Linked DNA regions of Homo sapiens: regions 1 and 3 are each linked to region 2. Evidence: promoter capture Hi-C in human tissues and cell types (Jung and others, 2019). All regions are on one chromosome and are shown on one strand. The core of a region is centred on a gene start or on the middle of the fragment in contact, and the rest is flanking DNA. Distances in the headings are between cores, read along the strand shown.

Region 1 (3,293 bases), core at 196-2,695, 180 kb after region 2:
GCAGAGGCCTAACACGCTCCAAAATTCTTAATTGGGTGTTCTTATTTGCAAAATGGACAAATAATGCCTTCATTGAGCATTTGAGAACAGTACTGAGAGAATGCATGCTTTCAAATAAACAAAATATTGCAAAACAAAAAGTATATTAAAAGATTTTAAAAGGCAAAAAAAGTATTAAAACATTATTCATGCTATTTGATATATTTTAGAATACAAATGCTTGTAATTAAAGGAAAAGCCAAGTCAAATATTCCAAATGAAACGCAAATCTGTATTGACGTAAACTAAAATTATTCAAGGTCTATGGTTGATGATTCATAGTCATCTTTGCATTTCACACAGCTTTTCACATAAAGCCTAAATGACAACCACTTTCCTTGTGCTTGATAGGAATTTAATTAATTAAAAATATGTGAGTATCAGCTTGCTCATAAAAATGAGGATTCTTAAAGTAAAATTTTACTGGGCACGGTGGCTCACGCCTGTAATCCCAGCACTTTGGGAGGCCGAGGCAGGCGGATCACAAGGTCAGGGGTGTGAGACCAGCCTGGCCAATATGGTGAAACCCTGTCTCCACTAAAAATACAAAAATTAGCCGGGCATGGTGGCGCACACCTGTAGTCCCAGCTACTCGGGAGGCTGAGGCAGAAGAATCGCTTGAATCCAGGAGGTGGAGGTTGCAGTGAGCACAGATCGCGCCACTGAACTCCAGCCTGGGTGACACAGCGAGACTCCATCTTAAAAAATAAAATAAAATAAAGTAAAATTTTTAAAAATGAGGATTCTTATAATGCATACAGAATGAGTGTGAGAAGTTTAGCATTTACCATATAATTTTCATTAGTCTGCTATTAAAAGATGTATTAGGTTGATGCAAAAGTAATTGCAGTTTTTGCAATTACTTTTAATGGCAAAAACCGCAATTACTTTTGCACTAGCCTATAAAGTGTGAGGGAGGTTTCTTCTTTTTAATCTTTTATTGTCTTCAAGCTTTTCAAAGCTGTTTCCTCTGGTTAGAAACTCCCTGCTCAGAAGAAAAATCCCACATATTTTCTTTTTTTTTTTTTTAATGATTATACTTTAAGTTCTAGGGTAAAGAAATACCATTTGACCCAGCAATCCCATTACTGGGTATATACCCAAAGGATTATAAATCATGCTACTATAAAGACACATGCACACGTATGTTTACTGTGGCACTATTCACAATAGCAAAGACTTGGAACCAACCCAAATGTCCGTCAATGATAGACTGGATTAAGAAAATGTGGCACATATACACCATGGAATACTATGTAGCCATAAAAAAGGATGAGTTCATGTTCTTTGCAGGAACATGGATGCAGCTGGAAACCATCATTCTGAGCAAACTATTGCAAGGACAGAAAACCAAACACCGCATGTTCTCACTCACAGGTGGGAACTGAACAACGAGAACACTTGGACACAGGGTAGGGAACATCATACACCGGGGCCTGTCATGGGGTAGGGGGCAGGGGGAGGGATAGCATTAGGATAAATACCTAATGTAAATGATGAGTTAATGGGTGCAGCAAACCAACATGGTGCATGTATACCTATGTAAATCCTACGTATTTTCTAAACTCCTTTGAAATGCCATAATCTTTGTGAAAGCCTTCATGACAGAATTGGTTACTAGCTCTTCTATCTTCACGTAACAATTTATCATATTTTTCAATAGCTACCTATCTGTTCACATGTCTATATTTAGAGACTCAATTGTTGAGTTCCACGAAGATCTGGACCATGTCTTATTCATCTTTGTAGCCCCAGCTTAGTTTAACTCTTAACATGTAATAGATACACAATGACGAAATAATGAATGTTAGAACTAAAACAGTAACCATTATGAAACTTCCAAAGGGGATGTAAAGGGAAGCTGGCACTAGGGAAAACACACAATGACGGAACAAATGACTAGCTGACAAGGAGAAAGACATCCTAGCAGAGGGTGGTTCTAGAGAAGATCACAAATAAAGGCTTCTGTACTTCCTAACTCTTCCATTTACATTACCATTAAAGTAACTAGACACCACTGAGTCACTAAATAACCTGGTAAGCATAAGAGCTACAACACCTTTTTTGCATGCTAAAATGTTAGGCTAAAACCAATTCTTCCCAAAAAACCTTAACTGCCCTATTTTTCCTTGAAATACCATAAGAATGCCAAAATGTGTGAATAATGAGTAATACTTTGATGTGAAAAACAGTACACCAGTTATTCTCAATTAAGGGGGGGAAGACACATTCTCTTGGAGGGAAACAGTGCAGCGTGAAAGTGCAAATATAATAATTTATATTTAGAAAACCTAAAAATCTTGTTTTCAAGATGCGAAGATAATCTTGTGAGCTTAGCAGGGTTACTCAAGAAATATTTAATTTAGAAGACTGATTTTTTTTTTTAATTATTATACTTTAAGTTCTAGGGTACATGTGCACAATGTGCAGGTTTGTTACATATGTATACATGTGCCATGTTGGTGTGCTGCACTCATTTACATTAGGTATATCTCCTAATGCTATCCCTCCCCCTGCCCCCCACCCCATGACAGGCCCCAGCGTGTGATGTTCCCCATTCCCCACCGTGTGTCCAAGTGTTCTCATTGTTCAATTCCCACCTATGAGTGAGAACATGCGGTGTTTGGTTTTCTGTCCTTGCAATAGTTTGCTCAGAATGATGGTTTCCAGCTTCATCCATGTCCCTACAAAGGACATGAACTCATCCTTTTTTGTGGCTGCACAGTATTCCATGGTGTATACGTGCCGCATTTTCTTAATCCAGTCTATCATTGATGGACATTTGGGTTGGTTCCAAGAGAAGACTGATTTTCTAAGATTAAGGGAGTATAAGAAACTCTAAGAATAGCTTTTTATATTTATTAAAATGGGACAACTATTTTAAAATAATTGAGAAACAGCATGTATTTTTAAAGCATATTTTGATAAAACTACTGTATATATTTATTTACAAGAAGTCTGAAACAAACACATGTGTTCATACACATCTTGAGAGATGGAAGGATGTACGTTAAACTGTTAATAGTGAATGTCTCTGAATAGTGATTTGTCTGCATTTGCTGAAATTTCCTAGGATGAACAGGAATTTCAGAATAAGGAATAGCAATAGCTATATTACAAATTTTGCCTTTTTCACCACTGAAAACTAAAAGGAATTACGGCAAGGAGTAGACCCAATATATTTCAGATTCAGTGTATAAAAAAATTACACATTCAACTTGACATCTAGATTTTAAAAAATAAAACCTGCCACT
Region 2 (2,931 bases), core at 221-2,720:
TGCCCAGCTAATGTTTGTATTTTTAGTAGAGACCAGGTTTTGCCATTTTGGCCAGGCTGGTCTCAAACTCCTGACCTCAAGTGATCTGCCCACCTTGGCCTCCCAAAGTGCTGGGATTACAGGCGTGAGCTACCGCTCCCGGTCTAATTTTTAAATTTTTGTTTTGTAGAGATGAGGGTCTCCCTTTGTTGCTCAAGCTGGTCTCTGTCTCTTGGGATCAAGGGATCCTCCTGCCTCAGCCTCCCAAAGTGCTGGGATTACAGGCCTGGGCCACTGCAACCTGGCCTTCATCACAAATTCATTGAACACACTTTCTTTATTTTATCCTTTTTTATTTTTAAAAATTTTTATTTCAGTAGTTTTGGAGGAACAGGTTGCATGGAAAAGTTCTTTAGTGGTCATTTCTGAGATTTTGGTGCACCCATCACCCGAGCAGTGTACACTGTACCATGTGGCACACACTTTCACTTAAAGCATTTACTAGACCTCGCTAGCCAGATTTCCCATCCCTGAGACACCTGGAATGTTCCTGAGGACTTAGTGACTACTGCCTAAAGCTCCACCCAAGTCAATTTTATGTTTACAGGCAACCGGAGCATCCAATCACCTTTCTCTAAGAGAGTACAAAGATCAGCTCGCGAGAAAGTTCAGACGTCTCATTTCGTTTCTATTACACGGGGCCTTCGCCCAACCAGACGGAGTCTTGCTCTGCTGCCCAGGCTGGAGTGCAGTAGCGCGATCTCGGCTCATTGCAACCTTCGCTCCCCGGGTTTAAGCAATTCTCCTGCCTCAGCCACTGGAGTAGCTAGGATTACAGGCGCACGCCACCACGCCAAGCTAATTTTTTGTATTCTTAATAGAGACGGGGGTTTCACCATGTTGGCCAGGCTGGTCTCGAACTCCTGACCTCATCATTTGCCCGCCTCGGCCTCCCAAAGCGCTGGGATTACAGGCGTGAGCCACCGTGCCCAGCCTCGCCGGGGCCTTTTAAGTGACGTTAAAAATTGTACATAAAATATGTTTTAGGATAATACTTGTTTTTCTTTGACCAAAGGCTTGGCTTCAGAGAATGTTTAGCCAGAAATAGAGGGGCGTTAAATCCCCTTTTTTCTAATTTCCAATCTGAGGAGGAAAATAACGTAGTAAAGGGACGCAAGAGCAACCTTGCTTCTTCCACAACAAGGCCCAGGCGCCGCCTTGCAACCCGGAAATGCAGGGTGCAGTGCGGGGGGTAAGGGACCGGCCAACTATGTTGACCCGACTCAGAGAAACCCCGCCCTTGCCGCCACCGCCCACCCATAACGTCCTCCTCGACCCTCCCTCGACCATCCCTCGCCCCGCGGCCCTCACCGAAAAGGGGAGGGCGGTGGAAGAGAGAGGAGTCAAGGGAGCGCACGCGAAGCCCCGCCCCTGCCGTGACGTCTGGAGACGCGACGCGTCGCCTCGCAATGCAAATCGGGAAAAGGGGGTGAGCTGGGCTGGCTTCCGTCCTGGTAGCCAAGGCTAATTCTCCCTCGAGTTCTTGGGAGATGGGCATTTGGCGAGAAGGCTGGCGTTAGTGAAGCGCGCCCGGCGTCACGGTGAGTGCGGGTCTTGGGCCCTAGCACCTGTTCTCTGGGAAGTCGTCCGCTGTGAACGATGAACGCCTTTCCTTCCACCAGCTGCTGGTTACCCCGGAGACAAGCTCTGTCCGCGGAGAGGAGTGGGACAACTCCTAAAGGTAGAATCAGCTTGTGGAGAGGAAAGGCCCAACCTTGAGTCTTTTACGCCATCTACCTAGGATTGCCAAGCGAGTTTCGTGTGTTTTTTTGGTTTTAAAAGGTGGCTTTGACCAATCTTCCGTTCTCTTGGACACTTATACCCGACTTTGACCTCTTTCCTCTTGCTTCCGGTTTTTTTTTTTTTCTGCAATCTGCCTACAATCCCAGGCCTTACTGTAGCTCCTAAAACTGTTTCCCAGTTTCTCTTCTTCCCCAGTCACACTTGATTTTAGTGAAGTTTGAGTTTAAAGACCCTATAAGCTTGTCAGAGTTAAAACTATGACTTCCTCAAATAGAAGATTTTTTTTTTTTCCCCTAAAAAGTGCCTTCCATCCTAGAGTTGTGGGACAAGTTAATTTCACCGCCACTCCACCTTGGAAATTATCAGAATCCTTACTAGCAGTGATGTGCATTATAAAGCTGCAGACCACCCTCCTGGGTTTATTTCTTGCCTCCAGTTCATTCTGTGACCTTGAACAAGTCACTTAATCACTAACAAAAAATTTACCTGACACGGAGGTGTTGCAGAGCCTAAGGAATTTAGTATTTGTTAAGAGACCTGAGGGTTTCAGATGAAAGGGATTTATATCTAAAGGATGTTACCTTTTCTGAATCTGCAAAGCATCGTTAGTTTTGTAAATATCTTGCTGCAGCCATTAAAAATGCCAAGTGGTATTTGTTAAGGAAGTATTCCTGTTTTAGGCTTGCTCTGCTGCGGCTTTGCTATGTAAGCAGATTTTTGCATTTCAGCCGATTCTGTTTAAGATTCGTTGGTGAATGTCATTCATGATGGATTTGGGTAGTTTCTCCTTACAGCATATCCCTGGACTATTAAGCATATCTGGAAGGTGATATCGGTTGTGTTATGTCTTTATCATGTTGATATGGCTGCTTTGAAATATGTATTCCTTTTCTTGTGACACATTGGATGCATCTTTAATATTAGTGAAGACCCTGTAGTAGTTTAAAAAAAAAATACACCTCTCATTAATGAAATTTTGCACATAGACATCTGTTTTTTTAAGAAAACAATGTATAAGAAAAACTAACAAAAATGTTTTAAAGGTGCCTTTTTTAGCATTTCGTTTTTTAATATATTTACTTGGACTTTAATCTTTATGGGCATTTGTTTATTAATGTGGACGTGGCTGGGCGCAGTGGCTCACATCTG
Region 3 (3,132 bases), core at 218-2,717, 160 kb after region 2:
CTTCAATTCAAACAAAAAGAGATTCCTGCCTTTATTCTGCATAAATTTTTCTTTAAAATTCCTGACTATTCACTGTAAGAAACTTTTCTGTAACTGCTACTATGCTAAAGTCAGTTTTCTTAAGAAAAATTTTTTTGAATTTTTGATATAGTCCCAAATATCACCACTTTGTAGATCTTATCTAAAAAAGTTTAATGTATTTAATAATATATATCTGTTTAGTTGAAATCTACAAACCGGTATTAAAGCTGCTTTGGAATCTACTTCATGAGTGTCTTCGGTAGATGGCCTTCTACTGATTTTTTCTGCTAAAAGAAAATTAAAAAATATAAAAAAGCTACACAACTGAAGTTTTATGAATACCAACTAACCAAACACAAAGTATTCTAGGCACAGTATAACCTTCATAAGATAACTCAACCTTTCCTCAACACGCTGAACACAAGAGTTACATGAGGCCCATAAATTATTCAATTTATTTTGAGTAAACTATTCAATTTATTGTGAAAAGGCAACAATAAATGAGAGTATGAAGTAAAAAAAAATTTCTCCCCCTCCTGTTCCCAATCACCCTGACTGGGGACAGTAAAGGTAATTCATTTCTTGCATATTCTTCCTGGGATATTTGTATGTGTATACACATACCCCCGCCAATATTTAACATAAATGGTAGAGAAACATATATGTCTGGAGGGTTTTGTTATTTTAAACTTTAAGCTTAGAGTTTTGTTTTTTTTTTTTTGAGACAGAGTTTCACTCTTGTTGCCCAGGCTGGAGAGCAGTGGCACAATCTCAGCTCACCACAACCTCTGCCTCCTGAGTTCAAGCGATTCTCCTGCCTCAGCCTCCCTAGTAGCTGGCATTACAGGCATGTGCCACCATGCCCGGCTAATTTTGTTTTCAGTAGAGACTGGGTTTCTCCTTGTTGTTCAGGCTGGTCTCAAACTCCTGACCTCAGGTGATCCACCCGCCTCAACCTCCCAAAGTACTGGGATTACAGGTGTGAGCCACTGCGCCTAGCCAGCTTAGAGATTTTCTACAGAACAGAGAAGATTTCCCAATTATCTTTCGATGCTCTCTTTATTTCATATTGGATACACATTAATGTATTTAAACAAACTCCTACTGATGGAAATTTGATCTGTTTCCAATCTCTTCCTATGATAAACAGTGCCGCAATGAATAATCCTTTTCCCCAATTTATGATAATACCTTTGTTGTCATATCTTATTTATCCGAAATGAACTTTAGAATTAAGCCTACTTCCAAAAAAAGTCAGGTCATTAAGTTACAAATCAACTTAGAGAAAGCTTACAATTTTACAGTACAACAAAGGATAACCTCAGAATGAAGAAAGGAAAATCTCAGAACAAAATTTGTATTCCAGGTGTAGAGGACAAAAAGACCAGACTGAGATATATTAGAAGACTCTGGGCAAAATGTTTTCAATATGATGAAACTGACAGAATACATTATATTCTGAATATCATGAAGAAATCTGGTTAAATACCAGAGAACCTAGAGTGTTGATTTAACCAAAACTGTAACTATACTTGGTGGAAAAGGGTGAACAGGTGTGTGTGTGTATGTTCGTTCTGGGAATACAGAGTGAGAAAAGAGAGTTCAATTCTTGTCTTCTTTAGTGGAAGGTCAACAGATACGGCCTAAAACTGAAATATGAGGATGCTGCAATACAGGTAGGTTTGAGTATTTCTAGTGATCACTTACTAGAAATGCTTGGGATCAGAAGTGTTTCAGATTTCTGTTTTTTTTTTTTTTTTTAAATTTTGGAATATTTGCATTATACTCACCCAGGTGAGCATCTGAAAATCTGAAATCTGAAACGCTCCAATGAGCATTTCCTTTCAGTCAGTACTCAAAAATTTTGGATTTAGGAGCATTTTAGATTTTGGGATGTTCAATCCATATAAGCATACTAACTTAGGAATAACATCTATGTTAACTTAAATACTGAGAATTCTTTTTCTTCCCTCCTAATCCTTCTACCATTTCTTTCTCTTTTTCTTTTTTGTTTGAGATGGAGTCTCGCTCCCATTCCCATTGCACAGGCTGGAGTGCAGTCGCGCTATCTTGGCTCACTGCAACCTCCATCTCCTGGGTTCAAGCGATTCTTCTTCCTCAGCCTCCCGAGTAGCTGGGATTACAGACGTGCGCCACCACATCTAGCTAATTTTTGTATTTTTTTTTTTTTTTTTTTTTTGAGACGGAGTCTCGCTCTGTCGCCCAGGCCGGACTGCAGACTGCAGTGGCGCAATCTCGGCTCACTGCAAGCTCCGCTTCCCGGGTTCACGCCATTCTCCTGCCTCAGCCTCCCGAGTAGCTGGGACTACAGGCGCCCGCCACCGCGCCCGGCTAATTTTTTGTATTTTTAGTAGAGACGGGGTTTCACCTTGTTAACCAGGATGGTCTTGAACTCCTGACCTCAGGTGATCCACCTGCCTCGGCCTCCCAAAGTGCTAGGATTACAGGCGTAAGCCACCTGGCCCACTCTACCATTTATTTTACTTGCTTTACTGCTCTGGCTAGAATGTAAAACAGAAACAGTAACAGTCAAAATCCTTGTCTTGCTCCCCATCTTGGGCTTTCAATAGTTCACTATGAAGTTTGATGCTTTGTGATAATTTTTTGTTGATATCCTTTTTGAGATTAAGAATGAATACTGAATGTTAACCAAATCAGCTGTTAAGATGATCTCATGATTTTTCTCCTTTAATCTGCTACTATCATGCATTATCACAATTATATTTTTGAATGTTAAGACAACTTTTATTCCTGGAATAAACCCAATTTGGTCATAATATGCATTGCTGAATTCAGTATGCCAAAGGAAAATGAAAGTGATGGTGAGATGGACAATGTAGTACTATTTTTCTTAAGGAACCTTTATAATTATTCAACTTTTCAACGATGTGCATATATAATCTTGACTTATAAAAAATTATGATATGGAAACATCACCACAATATAGTAAATGAGAAATTAATGGTACAAGGCAACATGTATTGTCTGTGACCTTTTGTGTAAAAAATGAGAGGTATAAGATTGTACTGTCATACATGACTGTATAAGCATGAAACTCTAAAGGGTAGACAAATAGTGGTAAATGTGGGA

What was found. The method cuts DNA at HindIII sites, captures the fragments that hold promoters and counts their contacts. A contact is called where the count stands out against the background at its distance.
Region 1: a contact is called between a fragment that was not itself captured here and the fragment with the promoter of USP8 in region 2, in 1 of the 25 tissues and cell types used here (liver).
Region 3: a fragment that was not itself captured here is called in contact with the fragment with the promoter of USP8 in region 2 in 1 of the 25 tissues and cell types used here (IMR-90 fibroblasts).

Annotation. Positions count from the first base shown.
Region 1 is chr15:50,600,902-50,604,194 of GRCh38, forward strand. The region is part of intron 21 of TRPM7 (transient receptor potential cation channel subfamily M member 7); the gene reads right to left. Among named protein-coding and RNA genes, the nearest start is that of USP50, 56 kb to the left of the region's middle. The HindIII fragment of the contact is 6,844 bases long and covers 1-3,293 here.
Region 2 is chr15:50,422,935-50,425,865 of GRCh38, forward strand. USP8 (ubiquitin specific peptidase 8) reads left to right here and starts at 1,471. Exons shown (of 20, transcript NM_005154.5): 1 at 1,471-1,580. RefSeq lists enhancers at 294-1,290, 1,329-1,718 and a silencer at 1,169-1,218. The HindIII fragment of the contact is 18,008 bases long and covers 1-2,931 here.
Region 3 is chr15:50,582,852-50,585,983 of GRCh38, forward strand. It overlaps TRPM7 (transient receptor potential cation channel subfamily M member 7), which reads right to left. Exons shown (of 39, transcript NM_017672.6): 29 at 238-308. Among named protein-coding and RNA genes, the nearest start is that of USP50, 38 kb to the left of the region's middle. The HindIII fragment of the contact is 4,205 bases long and covers 1-3,132 here.